Regions from separate parts of the Homo sapiens genome. Here all the other regions are linked to region 2. The links are contacts of gene promoters, found by promoter capture Hi-C in human tissues and cell types (Jung and others, 2019). All regions are on one chromosome and are shown on one strand. The core of a region is centred on a gene start or on the middle of the fragment in contact, and the rest is flanking DNA. Distances in the headings are between cores, read along the strand shown. Region 1 overlaps SLAIN2 (SLAIN motif family member 2). Region 2 holds the start of OCIAD2 (OCIA domain containing 2). Region 3 overlaps SLAIN2 (SLAIN motif family member 2). Region 4 has its middle 10 kb from the start of SLAIN2.

The links. Contacts are between HindIII fragments. The study calls those that stand out against the background at their distance.
Region 1: a fragment that was not itself captured here is called in contact with the fragment with the promoter of OCIAD2 in region 2 in 2 of the 25 tissues and cell types used here (aorta and dorsolateral prefrontal cortex).
Region 3: a contact is called between a fragment that was not itself captured here and the fragment with the promoter of OCIAD2 in region 2, in 4 of the 25 tissues and cell types used here (dorsolateral prefrontal cortex, liver, lymphoblastoid cells and 1 more).
Region 4: a fragment that was not itself captured here is called in contact with the fragment with the promoter of OCIAD2 in region 2 in 2 of the 25 tissues and cell types used here (aorta and lymphoblastoid cells).

What each region holds. Positions count from the first base shown.
Region 1 is chr4:48,350,059-48,353,818 of GRCh38, forward strand. All of the region lies in intron 1 of SLAIN2 (SLAIN motif family member 2), which reads left to right. Among named protein-coding and RNA genes, the nearest start is that of SLAIN2, 10 kb to the left of the region's middle. The HindIII fragment of the contact is 3,427 bases long and covers 1-3,348 here.
Region 2 is chr4:48,904,169-48,908,096 of GRCh38, forward strand. OCIAD2 (OCIA domain containing 2) reads right to left here and starts at 2,606. Exons shown (of 7, transcript NM_001014446.3): 1 at 2,490-2,606; 2 at 316-443. The coding sequence starts at 381. RefSeq lists a silencer at 2,284-2,543 and an enhancer at 2,834-2,913. The HindIII fragment of the contact is 7,902 bases long and covers 684-3,928 here.
Region 3 is chr4:48,387,923-48,391,595 of GRCh38, forward strand. All of the region lies in intron 6 of SLAIN2 (SLAIN motif family member 2), which reads left to right. Among named protein-coding and RNA genes, the nearest start is that of SLAIN2, 48 kb to the left of the region's middle. The HindIII fragment of the contact is 5,909 bases long and covers 1-3,673 here.
Region 4 is chr4:48,329,409-48,333,235 of GRCh38, forward strand. No RefSeq gene overlaps it. Among named protein-coding and RNA genes, the nearest start is that of SLAIN2, 10 kb to the right of the region's middle. The HindIII fragment of the contact is 3,646 bases long and covers 88-3,733 here.

The sequences.
Region 1 (3,760 bases), core at 385-2,884, 560 kb before region 2:
ATTCCACAAGTGTAACTATTAAAACATTTATCAGATCTACCTAAATAAATCATGTAGTCTGTTTTCATGAAAAACACAACTTTGGTTTTTAGGAATATCAGATAAGGAACACCAAAGTTGTATAGCTCACATCCTGTGAGCCTTCTGGATCACTGATGTTGCTACTGCTCCTCAGTCCCCATCTTTGGGGCCTCCGTGTATTCAAATTCCTATGCCAGATTGCCCAGGGAACCTGGTGCTGATACCCTGGTAGCCCAAAAAGGCTACTTGCCTTCTACTTCCACTTACGCAGACCCCTGCCTCCTTACCCTTCTGCTAGGAACATATCTATAACTATATAAATTCATGTAATTTTGACATTATTTTTTAAAATGGCAATTTGGGCAGTAAATAGCAGAATTAAGTAGTGTCTTAATATAAATGGTTTGCATTACCTGAATACACTATTCCTTGTAGTAATTATCTGTACTACCCAGAGCACATTGCATGTGACTCCTGTTGGGCTAATTTTCAGTAGCAAAAATGAATTTGTAAAATAATGTAGGTTTTAAGGCTTTGGTAATAATAAGTTCTTATTTCACCTCTTTCATTTACTCAAAATTACGTCTTCTGAGATCTTTTGGGATCGAAGTTATGGAGGAAATGAACAACTTTAGGACAAACTAGCTTATTTAAGAGGAAGGCTTTAAACTAGGTCTTTAGGAGTGGCTCAGAAATTGCAGAACAGTTTACTTTGATCTGGGAAAGGTCTCACATTCTGGAATAAAATAGAAATTAGAGACTTTAGAGAAAAAAATATTGATTCTATCTCCTTGAAATATGAAGAATAATAGATGCAATATAATGTAGTACCACGGTATCAGATATGAAATTCTTGAAAGTATTTGGAAAGATAAGACAAAGGAAGTTGTATTTAGTTAAAAATCAGGTTTATAATTCATGAGGATGAATCAAATCATCTCCCACTTCTGCAGTGTACTAGACTGAAACTCCTCCCCCACACATCCCTCTCCTACTCCATTCAGGAGCTTCTGCTCCTCTCTCTGTGAGACAGTAAGAAAGTACCCAATTATGTGTGGCTCTTGAGGCTTATTTTGTTTGAAAAGTGTGAATGAGAACCAGGAGTGGGCCAAGCTAGTCTGTAAGTGACCCTTGACTCCAATAAGCTTGAGGAATGGGATTTAATAGGTACTCTCAAGTTAGGTTTTTAGTATGCATTTAATACCTAATCGGTACTATATTCTATAGTGATAATCAGACTAAATTGTGTGTTTTTGCTAATACCTATTTAGTAGATACAGAAAGAGTACTTTAGTAATTTTAGGCTTTGAATGCTTATATCTTTTGAGTGGGCCTGCTCATTTCTCCTCTGAGTGGGAGATAATGAATCTTGTGTTGACCTGTCACAGTGAAACTCTTATTTGCCATTGGTTATACTTAGGACTGATGGTGGAGTGGATTAAGAAGCAAAACCCAAAAAACTGATGAATCCTAGAAACCTGAATCTAGAGGTTTGGAACTTGATGAGCAGGCACGGTAAGTCTTGATGGTAGTGCAGCCTGCGAGTGAAAGAGGCTAACAACCTTTATGTGAGGTGTAATAATCTAGTTATATCTTAATTCATCTTCACATTTCTGTCTAACGCCATGTCTGGCCAGTGGTAACTGCTGTATAAATATTTGTTTAAATTACTGAGTGGAGCATAAGCTTTCAAGGTGTTTAGAGTTTGGTTAGGAGACAGAATGAACATAGAATTCTGTTCTCTCTGAAACCAGTAATATTTTCTAGAAGAAAGGTGTATATGGGCTTAAAAGTGAGAGCCGGGACTTTGGATTTGGGCACACATGGAAAGGTATTTTTTGCTGTCTGTGAGAATCAACAAGTTTAGGGAAAAGAGCGAGTGATACATTTGAGTAGGGTAGAGAAAAGGCCTGTGAAGATCTTAACTAAAGGGATGTTTGTTAGGGAACAAGTGAGAAAGCTGAATCATTGGGTTGGAGATCATACTGTGAATGGCCTGTGAAATCTAGGAGGAGAGTTTTTGAATATTGGAATGCTTTTAACAAAATGGCATTTTGGAGAGGTTAGTGTGGCAATAGTATGTAGGCGAGAACACAAGTCATAGCTACCTTTATTGGCTAGAAAACAGCCTCTGAGGTTTGTGTCCACCTCTTCTGCCCTGAAGTATTCAAACCAAAGTATTGAATTCAAACCAAACTATTGAGTCCACAGTGATACTCTTTCCATTTCATACCAACTACTTATAATATGTTGCATGAAAACCATCACATCACATCAAGCTAAATGATTAAAGATTAGGCCATTTACCTATGAAGGAAATAATAGATATCATTTTGGTTTCAAGATTGTTTAGTTCCTCTTAAAAAACATTCACATTGTTTAAAAATGTCATTTTGATCTTATTAATGTTATTGTAAGGATAATCCCAAACAGGATTCTGCAACCTTGACATTTGGGTCAGATAACTCTTTGTTGTGGGTGCTATCCTGTGTGTTGTAGGATGTCCAGCAGCATCCCTGGCCAATCAAAAATGTCTCCAGATGTTGCCAGGTGTCCCTTTGGGGCAAAATTACCACAGGTTAAGAACCATTGCCTTAAAGGATACTTATGGTATGGTGTCAACATGACCAGAAATAACTAGTACTGTATTGCAGTAATAAGTTTCGTATTCTAGTTACTTTGCTCCATTTACATTTTCTAAGTCAAAAATAGTGCTTGATATGGTTTGGCTGTGTGTCCCCACCCAAATCTCATCTTGAATTGTACTCCCATAAGCCCCACGTGTTGTGGGAGGGACCTGGTGGGAGATAATTGACTCATGGGGCGTTTTCCCCTATACTGTTCTCTAGATGGTGAGTTAACTCTCGCAAGATCTGATAGTTTTATCAGAGGTTTCCGCTTTTGTGTCTTCCTCATTCTCCCTTTGCCTGCTGCAATCCATGTAAGATGTGACTTGCTCCTGCTTGCCTTCCACCATGATTGTGAGGTTTCCCCAGCCTTGTGGAACTGTAAGTCCAATTAAACCTCTTTTGTAAATTGCCCAGTCTCAGGGATGTCTTTATCAGCAGTGTGAAAACCAACTAATACTGTGTGGTTCTGAAAATTAAGAATAAGTTAAGGGATTGGGCACTACTTGAGAGTCAATGGAGCACTAACCAGATGAGATGTCAGAACAGTAGATTTAAATTAGAACTGCCTTGGGGAAACTGGAATGAATGGTCACCCAAGAAGTAATCATCAGACATTTATTGAGTACCTGCCATAGGTGGAGCACTATCTATCATGGTAAGAAATAGTCATAAGAACTTTGATGGTTGGAAAGCTTCATGAAAGCTTCAAAAAAGACTTCATGGTCAGTCTTGAAAGGCAAAGTAAGGCTAGGTTAGATTAAAAAAAAGGAAACTTTTTTTTTCCTTTATAGTGAAAATAACTATGAACAAAGAATCCGTGGGTTAAACTCTCCACGATGCATGAAACAAACATTTATTTGGTCAGTTTGGCTGAAAACAGAAGGTTTTTTTTACTGGAGTAAAGATCAAAGGACATAGTTTTGAATCTGGTAACACAGGATTTTGAAAACTAAGCTGTGGAGTATATCTGATGGGAAAGTTTTTAGGCTGTGAAACAGTGGTATGTATATATGTGTTTCAGAGTATAAGTGGTAGAGTGTAGATAGATTGGAAATATGAAAGTCTGCTAGGTATGGAGAAAACAGTTAAGATTATTGTAACAGTCCGTA
Region 2 (3,928 bases), core at 1,356-3,855:
TGACCAGGCATGGTGGCTCACGCCTGTAATCCCAGCACTTTGGCAGGCCTAGATAGGAGGATTAATTGAGGCCAGGTGTTTGAGACCAGCTTGGGCAATATAGTGAGACCTCATGTCTAACCACAAAAAAAATTAGCCAGGCATGTGGGCCTGCACCTGTCATCCCAGTTAAGTGAGAAGCTCAAGTAGGAGGATCACTTAATCCAGCAGTTCGAGACTGCAGTGAGCCATGACTGCACCACTGCACTCCAGTCTGGGTGACAGTGTGAGATCGTGTCTCAATCAATGAATCGATCAATAAATATAAAAGTATACCTGCTTGCTTGGTGGTGGAAAATGGGCATCTTTATCTTGGTTTCCACGAGCAGACGCTGAAGCCATGATGACTTTGTGCTTGCTCTCCTTCCAGTTGTTTATCCTCTGCTTACTCCTTGACCCAGTGTCTAAGGAAGGTAGAAGAGAATCACTATGCCATGACTAAATGTTTGCATCAAGCTTAAAAGCATCCTGAGGATCCACTGGAGTTATTTGGAAAATGTGTTTTTCCTTTTGTCATTAGTCCATCTGCAAACTCAACTTCCAGTGCTCCTCTTCCACCAGCACACATACATGCACTCACTAATGGGGACAGATCAGATTTAGAATAGAGTGGAAATACCACACTGTGCACTGAGTGTCGATTATGTGCCAGGCCAGGGGATATGAAGAAGGATAAGACAAGATCACCGCTGTGAAGGAATTCACAGTCCAAAAGGGGAGATAGACAAGTCAACAGTTACACAACATGAAAAGTATGCATGGGATGCTAAGGAAGAAAAGAAAGCAGGGTCCATTCCATCTAGTCATGTCACAAAGGAACTAGGACTCCTAAGCTTTCAGGAGGATCTGTGGAGGGTAGATGGACTCTGGGGCAGGAGGACCAGGTTGGAAGGTGGTACACTAGTCCAGACAAGGAGTTACAGGGACGTGAACAAAGACCCTGGTGGGAATTTAGCATCTTTGATAGAGATGCTAAATTTGGGTTTGGAAATGTTGGATTTGGGTGCCTGTGGGGGCAAACAGTGGAATTAGCCACTGTTAATATTTGACGATTTGGGTCTAGAGTTCCAGAACAGGGGTAGGCTAGAGAGATGAAGTTGGGAGCTGCCATCATAGAGATGAGAGTTAAAGCAGGGAACTTTAATAAATGTGTCTAAAAACAGTACTGGAGAATATGAACACTGAGCCCAAGGGAATATCGAAAAGAGAAGAAAGATTAAAAAAAAAAAAGCAGGCCAAGGAAATGACTGAGAAGGAATAGCTGATACAGAGGGGAGGGAATTTCTGAAGGAGGGAGTGAATCATCAACACCATCACATGGCTTAGAAAAGTGGACCCTGGATTTGGCAATGATGGACATAATCCAGGTGGACTTTGAGCCTCCTCCTGCCCCCAGTGGCCACTGCATTCTGCAGCCCTGAACTCTACCTCTACCTCTGCTTTTCTTCTGCAAAATGAACCTCTTATATACAATTCTGTTTCCTACATCAGTTACTAAACTTTGAGGCATTTGAGCCAAGGGGACCCGTACTCGCACCAAGTTTCATCACAGGTGTCTAATGTGATTACAGGGGCAGCACGGTGCCCTGCACGGGAAAGTACTGGGGTCAGAGAGACCAGAGTTCAAATCGTGACTCTTTACCCCTGCGATCCCTTTGGTGCAAATGACTTAATCCGTCTCTGCCTCAGCTTTCTCCACTGTTAATTGGGCATAATGGACACAACAATGGTGAGGGGCTCTTGCAGGAATGAAGACTAGGATGAGGATGAGGATGAGGGATACGTCCATAAAGCCCCTGCACACCTTCCATTTCCTGAGCACTCCCAGGAAGTCTTTGCTGACCACGCCAAATTAGATTATCTTTGCTTAGCCATTAGGCCGCTGCCCTATATTGGGAGGCAAATATACCTCTCAGCTTCGGTGGCCAGGTCCCCTGGCACCCACTTAGTCCTCAGTCTGCACCTAAAAGCAAGCCTTCCGAGGGTCTTGCCTTGCAGGTGTAGCTCCCACCCCCCACGCTGGGGTGGTCCGGGGACCCTCTGTTTCCTCAGTGGTGGGGAAGGGACCCGTGGGTTCGTGGGTGCTGACCGACGAATGTGCGGAGGAGGGCGCGCCCCAGCATGGGGGGCGGGGGTGCTTCTTAGGATGGCTTGGAGGGGGGCGCCTGCAGGGCTGGACGGCGGACGGGGGACACTGCACTTTCTGATGCGGTCGGGGAAGCCGGGAGTCAGCCTACTGGAGTCCGCTGCCATCCCTGGCCAGAAGCAGCCAGCGCCACCCCAAGCTCCCCAGCCCCTCGCCCGTGCCGGGGCCGCCGGGGTCCGAGTTAGGGGAGAGTGGGGGGCGGCCACCGCTGCACCGCGCGGCCTTCGAAGGACTGCCCTGCGGCGCCGCGTTCCCCCGAGGCCACCCCCTCCCGCCGTCAACACTCCCCGGGGCGGGGGCTCACCTGTGTGGTCTGGGTCGCCTCCGAGGCCGAGTCCCTCGTTGCCAAGCCCAGCAGGCCTCGCTCCCCCGTGACTGCACCGCCGGCCCGCTCCAGCTTCCCGAGTACCCCACCTGTCTCCCCGGCTTCCTTCCGGCCCTTTGTGTTTTCTTCTCTTGCTCCGCCCCCTCGCCTGCCCGCTAAGCACTTAAGCTGGTGAAGTCACCCTACTGCCACCTGGCAGTCACTTTCGCTGTTGGTGGCAACCCAGGCTGGAACCCAGCTCTTGCCGGAACCCCTGCCCCATCCTTGAGGCTTGTCCCGACACCGAGTAGGTTCTAGTTCCTTTGTGCCTTCCAAATGACTCCCTTCCTCCAGCAATCACAGCCGCAACAGCCATGTATTGCGCCCCCGCCCTAGGCCAGGCGTGGGCATCACCTTTGCACTCCTTTCTGCAGCCGTGTGTGGTGCCCACTGTGACCTGCACTTCACAGACGGGTCATCTGAGTTGTGCAGGCCACTAAGGGAGCCTGGAGTCAACCCCAGGCCTGCTTGGCTCCCAGGCCTTCTCTTTCCATTGCTCTTTGTCGGTCCCCTGCTGCCTCCTGTCCCTCCCCAACTCTGACTTGTGGAGGGAAGCCTTTGACATGTGGGGGTACCTTTAATACCGATATCACTTGTTACCGGAGAGGGGTCCCGATCCAGACCCCAAGCGAGGGTTCTTGGACTTCTCGCAAGAAAGAATTCGGGGTGAGTCCGTAGAGTGAGAGCAAGTTTATTAAGGAAGTATAGAAAACAGGCCGGGTGCGGTGGCTCACGCCCATAATCCCAACACTTTGGGAGGCAAAGGCAGGCAGATCACTTGAGCTCAGGAGTTCAGACCAGCCTGGCCAACATGGTGAAACACTCTCTCTACTAAAAATACGAAAAGTTAGCCAGGCATGGTGCTCTATGCCTGTAATCCCAGCTACTCGGGAGGCTGAGGCAGGAGAATCGCTTGAACTCCGGAGGCAGAGGTTGCAGTGAGCCGAGATTGCGCCACTGCACTCCAGCTTGGGCGACAGAGCCAGACTCTGTCTCAAAAAAAAAAAAAACAAAAAAAAAACAAAAAACAAGAAGAACAACAACAAAAAAGAATGGCTACTCCACTGGCAGAGCAGCTGTGTGGGCTGCTTAGCTAATTATACTGGTAGTTATTTCTTGATTCTATGCTAAACAAGGGGTGGATTATTCATGAATTTTCCAGGAAAAGGGTGGGCAATTCCCGGAACTGAGGGTTCCTTCACTTTTTAGACCATATAGGGTAACTTTCTGACGTTGCCATGGCACTTGTAAACTGTCATGGCCCTGGTGGGAGGGTCTTTTATCAGGCTAATGCATTAAAATTAGCATTTAATGAGTAATGAGGACGACCAGAGGTCACTTTCATGACCATCTTGATTTTGGTGGGTCTTGGCTGGCTT
Region 3 (3,673 bases), core at 521-3,020, 520 kb before region 2:
TTGTGTAAACTTCAGTTGTTAGTGTAACAGATGTTGCATTTTGTTTTAAGTATTTATTTTTTCAGCTCTTAAGTGGTAAAGCTTTGGTTCTTACTTGCTGGTCTGCATGAACCTAACTTTGCAAGGTTGCTGTTACTTCCACCTAAGGGATCACTTCTTTTGCCTTGTTACTATGCCAATCACTATTTTTATATGCTTATTTGCTGTGGCTGCATTATTGTGGATGCTGGCATTGAAATATGAGATTTATGAGAGTTCTAATGTATCTTCATTTTTATAACTATTACCAATTTTTGACTTTTATATTTGGAAAATATAACTTAAAAAGTTTAAGAAAACCAGAGCATTGCAGAGGTCATGGATACATGTCAATTTCTTAGTTTCATCAATTAAAGGAAGGAATGTTCGTGAGAGAGTTTTTCAAAAGGCTAATGCCTTGCTTTCTAAGACTGTTAAAGCACAGGTTTAGCAGAAAGTTTAGTTTCCAGAAAGTCATAGGAATAATTGGTTGAGAAATAAGGGAAGGGAGAAAAACCCAACACAATCTACTGATTTAAAAAATGATACCCAAATTTTATTTGTTTGTAAATGTTTAAGTGTATTATTTCATTTAAACATCAGAAATCATTTATTTTTATAGAAAGGGAACAGAGATCCATATAAATTAAATGAATTGTACAAGGCCATATAACTAGGGAAGTGGTAAAAGCAAGGCCAGATTTCTCCCTCTTCCCAGCTCCTCCCTGAGTCTCCTATTTTCCTCTTCCTCATTGTTTGGATGAGATCATGCTGACCTAATTACAAATGAGTGCATCTTGGAAAACATTCTTGAATGACTGTCAGACCATGATTTGAGATTAACTGTAAGTATTTTGTGAATTACCACAGACGAGTAAAATAATTTAGTGAGATATTATCCATTTGCTTACATTTAGCCAAACAAAAGAATATTTTTGCATGGAATACAGAGTATACCCCAGAGAAAATGCATATAGCATCAACATTGTACTTGGACCTCTTACTGAAGAGAGAAGGACGACTGTCCAGGGCAGTTGTCAGCTTATGCATAGCCATCCTGTTATGAGACCAGTGAGGAAGGAATTCCCATCCAGATTTCACTTACTACCAAAACACTAGTAGATTACACTTGAAATATACATAATTTTGAAACACAAATTGAAATAAATAAGTCATGATTAATATGTGTAATGTGCTAATCTAAGAATGAATGAAACATTTATAGAACATCTATTTAAGTAGTACAGTGATGTTGGCTCAGTTATCTAATCACAAGGACACTTTATAAAGGTAGTTTTTCTGGCCTTTACCGCTGGAAATTTTGATTGAATGCCCTTGGGATAGGGACCCAGATTGTGTATTTTAGAAGCATCTCAGTTGATTCTGGAGCACGTTCAAGTTTGAGAACCAGTGGGTTAAACCCTGACTTTGGTGGACCTTGAATGCTTAGTATAGAGTTCTGGATTTTATCCAGTGGTCAGTCACTTATGTGTTCCTTAATTATTCAGTAGATATTATTGGGTATATGTTATATTTCCAGCATTGGGAATATAAATGTTAAGACAGCCCACGCCTTCCAGTAGCAGGGAGAGTTAGACAGGAACCTCTGTGGGAACAGAGGAGAGGCATTAAATTCAGCAGTGTGAAGGGATTTTCAGGAAAGATATTAAAAGATATCTCAGCCAGCTCAGAAGGAGCTTATATGAGTTGCCCAACAAAGAAAGGAGATATAGGTTTTCCCAACAGTGGGATCAGTAATGAAAAGTCTTGAGAATGGCAGCCTGAGTATAGTGGTTTTGTATAACTAAAGTGTAGGGTGTATGATGGGTAAGGGAGCGGGTACAGCATCCCATGAGGGGATGATAGCTATAGAGACAGGACAGGCTGTAGGAGTTTTAAAATATCATAGGAGTTTGAATTTCATCCTGTAAGTGGGAGGAGCCATATTTGGCTTTTAATCAAGGTGGTTTCTTAGGAAGTTCACTCTGATATCAGTGTGGAGAAAAGATTCAGTGAGGTGAGACTAGAAACCACTTAGGCTATTATTGCATAATCTAGGCAAGAAATTAAGATCTGAAGACACAGCAGTGAGGGAGTGAGGGTGATGAGATCTGGATGAATTTTGTTTTCTTTTTTTCTTTTTCTTTTTTTTTTTTTTCCTGAGACTCTGTCTCCCAGGCTGGAGCGGCGGTGGCGTGATCACAGCTTACTGCAACCTCCACCTCCCAGGTTCCAGCAATTCCCCTGCCTCAGCCTCCCTCTTAGTAGGTGGGATTACAGGCACGCACCACCATGCCTGGCTAATTTTTTGTATTTTTAGTAGAGATGGAGTTTCACCATGTTGGCTAGGCTGGTCTTGAACTCCTCATCTTAAGTGATCCTCCCGCCTCGGCCTCCCAAATGACTCTAAATCAAAACTTCTAAGAAATAAAAGATTTAAACAAAAATGAGGTTATGGGACAATGGGGTATTTTACCTAGCAGTAATTAATCTTCACTCACAGAGGCTGTGCTTACTTAGTATTTAGCACCTAGAGAAGCTAATTTTTAACATCCTCTTATATATGAAAAAATCATTTTCAATTATCATGAAACTAGTTATAGTACTAATGGCCAGGAAAAAAATGCAGACAGTGAAAATATTCTTCTATTGAAATTGTATTTTATAACTGTCAGTAAAAAATAAATAATAAAATCAACATTATAATACAAAAATAGACAATGGGTTAATAATTTGAAGTTACATTGATCATTTTTTTAAAAAGGAAAAATGTTTTTATATATTGATCTGTCACAGTGGTGAATAGTATAGCTTTCGTTTTTGAAAACTTATCAATAGCTTCTTCAGAATTGATCTTTCGATATTGGGGCTTAGTACATCATAGCCAGATTTATCAATCTGTCTACTCTTACTTGATGGAAGAACACTATCTTTAAATTTTAATTTTGAAAGTTTTTTTCATGAAGCAACTGCTACACAGAGAAAATCTTCAGCATAAGGATAAGTTCAGCAGAGATTCTTAAAATTCCATCCTCCAGTAAATTCCAGAAATTGCCATACTTTCCTTGCCTTTGTTTTTGAAGGATCAAGTCTAATGATTTTTCAGTGTCTTCGCAGTTAAAATATTTTAAACACAAGCTCAAAATCGCATATAATGACAGAATTGAGGCAACTCCAAATCCTTTCATTGACTTTAAAAATCACTGTACCATTGTTGTTTATTTCTAATATGCTTAAATATAATAATATATTGTACCACAGGGTTGGAGGCACACATTTCGCTGAAGTGAGCTTGAATAATTTCAGATTGCTACCAACTTTCTCTTGAAAGGAACATGTGTAGTGGAATCCACCTGTATCAGGGGAGACTTTAAGTAGAAGACTGTAACTGGGAGCTTTCCTAATTAAGTCTTACATGAAGTGCGGTATTTATTAAAGTATAAGTCATAAAATGTGCTTACTTAAAGCTTACATGTGTGTTATTAAAACTCAACAGTTGTTTATAGCTTAGACCAACTATTTTTCAGGGAGGAGTGCTTTTATAACTGATGTTTATTATTGCTGGGGCATGATGATAATAGAAAGCCGACCAACTTGGTTTTATTTTTGTTTCCAAATTGCCTACAGACAATACACCCACTTATTGCCTACTCTT
Region 4 (3,827 bases), core at 661-3,160, 580 kb before region 2:
ATATTGGATAGTAAATAAATCTGCTGTTTGCTGCACAGGGAGAAATTATCTCTGTTCCAAAACTGTTTGCTGTGTAAACATCCCTGAAATGATATTGCAGAACAAGAGTAGCCAGTGTCACATCACAAGATGTGCAGAAATGCAAGAGATCCATGGAGAAATGTCTTCCTGTTAACAAGCAGGTGTGGAAGAAGAGCTAAGCAGAAAAAACTATAGATATCCACCATAGATAACATCTCTGGAGCTGTGGTACCTTCTACATAGACTAAGGCAATAAGTTTAGCACTTGTTACAAATGAATTCAGGGAATATTTATTAATTTGTATTTTAGAAAACATTTACCATTAGATTGTTTTTCTTAAGAAAAATATTGATATCTCTAAAAGGTAATTTTGAAAACAATATTAATGTGTCACAATAATCTATATGAAGGAGAACAATTTAATTCCTGGCAATGATGAATTTGAAATAATTTTTTCATGGACTCTCATTTTTTATTTTCTGTTTCTGTTTCTTAAAGAAATATTGTAGCAAAGGGGAAAGTAGGGTATTGTTTGATGTTTTTCCTGCTTGAGGGAATCTGAAGTATTCTGATTCTGTATGAATAAAAAAAATTGGAACACTTACAGATACTTTTTAAAAATTCTAAGGCAGAACTAAGGGGATTGAATACCCTGGGAACTCTTGATAACCATTTCAGATATTTTTATTATATTTATACATGCTTTTGAAATTCTGGTTAGCCACAATTCTGTGGATGATGAAGTCATAGAGTCTTAGGAGATGAATCACTAATCTAGGCTTACTGCTACCAGTTTAAACTTACTCTATAATTTCTCTCTGACTGATTGTTGTAGAATGGTAGCTTGTAAGTAAACCAGTGATTTATTTGTTTATTGTATTCAAATGATGAATTTGAAATAATTTCATTAATGGCCTCTCATTTTTAATTTTCTGTTTCTGTTCCTTAAAGAGAAACTGTAGTAAAGGGGCAAGTAGGGTATTGTTTGATGTTTTTCCTGCTTAAGGGCAAACAACTTGCTCATATGTAATTTGTCTTAAGTTGTTGAAGCCATAAACTATTGGGCTTGAATTAGTTTAACTCACTTTATAGAAAATTTAGCATACCAATTAAGCACTTAAATAGTAAATTAAGAAAATGGTCCTCAAATCAATTACAATACCAGGATTTTAGATCTCAGTGAAGGATGAGTATTTAGAAGCTTCCTTCCCTCTAAATCAGTGTTAATACTTTTTTTGTCTGTCTCTGAAATTTAAGAAAGATAATCCCTGTTTTTTCCTTGTTTCTCCCATTTCTAACCCAAGAGAAAATGAAATGATTTCAGTCATATTTAGCAGTAGAGTTAATCTACTAGCAAATCTCGATCTCCTGACCTCGTGATCTGCCCGCCTCGGCCACCCAAAGTGCTGGGATTACAGGCATGAGCCACCGTGCCCAGCAATCTACTAGCAAATCTAAGTGGAACAAATTACACACTGTTTTTCATGTGAGAAAATATGTTCTTAAGCTAGAGGAATATTTCAATAACAAATATCCATTAGAATCTACATGCAAGACACTAGCTTATCTAATGAGAAAAGTCAGAGAAGTAAAACAGCAAAACAACTTCACATTCTTTAATGTTCATTCAGAATATTAAATGCCATTAATTGACCATCATTATTATAAAATTTACTATTTAGATAAGTGAGTTTTAGTACAGTGCTATTTAAAGTATGGAACTGTTACTGGTGTGTGATCAGTACAGAAATTGAGACTAAGCATTTAGAAACCTAGAGCAATTTGACGTAGCAATCTTCTGTCTGTTGAATCTAATAACAAAAAAAATTTTTTCAATTTTGCATATCTTTTTAAAATTTAATTTGTCAAGGAATTCATTTTTAGCATATTTTACAAAAACATCATTCTCCTATGGAGACTATTTGGAAATACAAATAAGAAAACTGGTTCTTACCACAGATAGTTTTAGAAACCTGTTTTAGTGTAAAGCCATCATTTAGTATAAAGTCATCTATTATTACTGTTACTCTGAAGTGGTTACTGAGCATTACAACAGTAGGTAGGATTATAAGTTGTTTACTAAATATGCTAGATTTATTAACTCATGTATATATTTATTGAGAAACCAAAATATTTGAAGTACTTGATGAAGTTGATGTGCTAACCATTGCCTGTCTGCCCATATTCCCTCTTGGAAATATTACAGGATTCTGCTCACTTCTGACTCCAGCCTCAGCATGCTGTACCATGGTGGGCTAATATTAGTTAGTCTAATAATATGTGAGTCTAATATTATGTCACCCAAGAATCTGGAATTGGGACACTGAGAGACTGAGTGATTAGGTCATAGTAGTCACATGAACTGAAATGTCACCAGTTGTTACAACACCAAACCCAACGCCACATGTAGACTGATGTTAGAGAACACAGAACATGAGTAAGCAGGGGTTCTGAGATAGAATAAGGGGGAAGGGGGCAAATGGCAAACATGCAAGAAACAGAGAGAGAGCCCATCAAAATATAAGTTAGGTCCTGTCACTCCTCGGCTCAAATCCTGCCTTGTCTTATGTCATACGGAGTAAAAGTCAGTCTTCACAACTGACTACAGGCTGTAAGGAATCTTTCCTCCATCTCTCTGACTTCATTTTCCACCACGCTCTTTGACACTCATTCCAGTTTAGTCATCCAACCTTGTTTTTCCCTGAAGCCAGGCACATTATTGCCTCAGGGCCTTTGTACTTGCTCTTCTGCTTGGTATGCTCATCCGCAGTTTCCTGCCTGGTTGGCTCCCTCACCCTCCTTCAGAGTTTTGTTCAAACATCATCTTCTAGGCGAGGCCTGCCCTGAGCACCCTATTTAAAATTGCAATCCCGGCCGGGCACAGTGGCTCACGCCTGTAATCCCAGCATTTTGGGAGGCCAAGGTGGGTGGATTACTTGAGGTCCGGAGTTCGAGACCAGCCTGGCCAATATGGTGAAACCCTGTCTCTACAAAAATAACAAAAATTAGCTGGGCCTGGTGGTGGGCACCTGTAATCTCAGCTGCTTGGGAGGCTGAGGCAGGAGAATCACTTGAATCAGGGAGGCGAGGTTGCAGTGAGCCGAGATTGCGCCACAGCACTCCAGCCTGGGTGACACAGAGAGACTCTCTCTCAAAAAAATAAAATAAAATTGTAATCTTGGCCAGGAGCAATGGCTCACACCTGTAATCCCAGCACTGTGGGAGGCCAAGGCGGGTGGATCACTTGAGTACAGAATTTGGAGACCAGCCTGTGCAACACAGCAAAACTCCATCTCTACAAAAAATAGAAAAATTAGCTGGGCGCGGTGGTATATGCCTGTGGTCCCAGCCACTCTGGGGGCTGAAGTGGGAGGACTGCTTCAGCCCAGGAGGCAGAGATTGCAGTGAGCTGAGATTGCACCACTGCACTCCAGCCTGGGTGACAGAGCAAGGCCTTGTTTCAAAATAAATAAATAATAAAATTGCAATTCTGCCCTCACCCACATTCCCTATCCTCCTTTCTCGATGTATTTCTTCTCCATAGCACTATTTCTATGCCCTTCACTCTATTCCCTCCTTCTCCATTTGTTTAACATTTTTATTGATTTTGGGTTTATCTTTCGATTGTATCTTTTTACAAACATAAGCATTTATGTATACATTTTCATATCCTTTCCTGCTTCTTGTGCTAAAGGTGTATACCATAAGCACCATTTTGAACCAGCTTTCCTGGAGCTTCATGGAGATCTTCATCTCTTTTCTTTTTATTGATGCACAGTCCTCCATTATGTGGATGTATCATAGT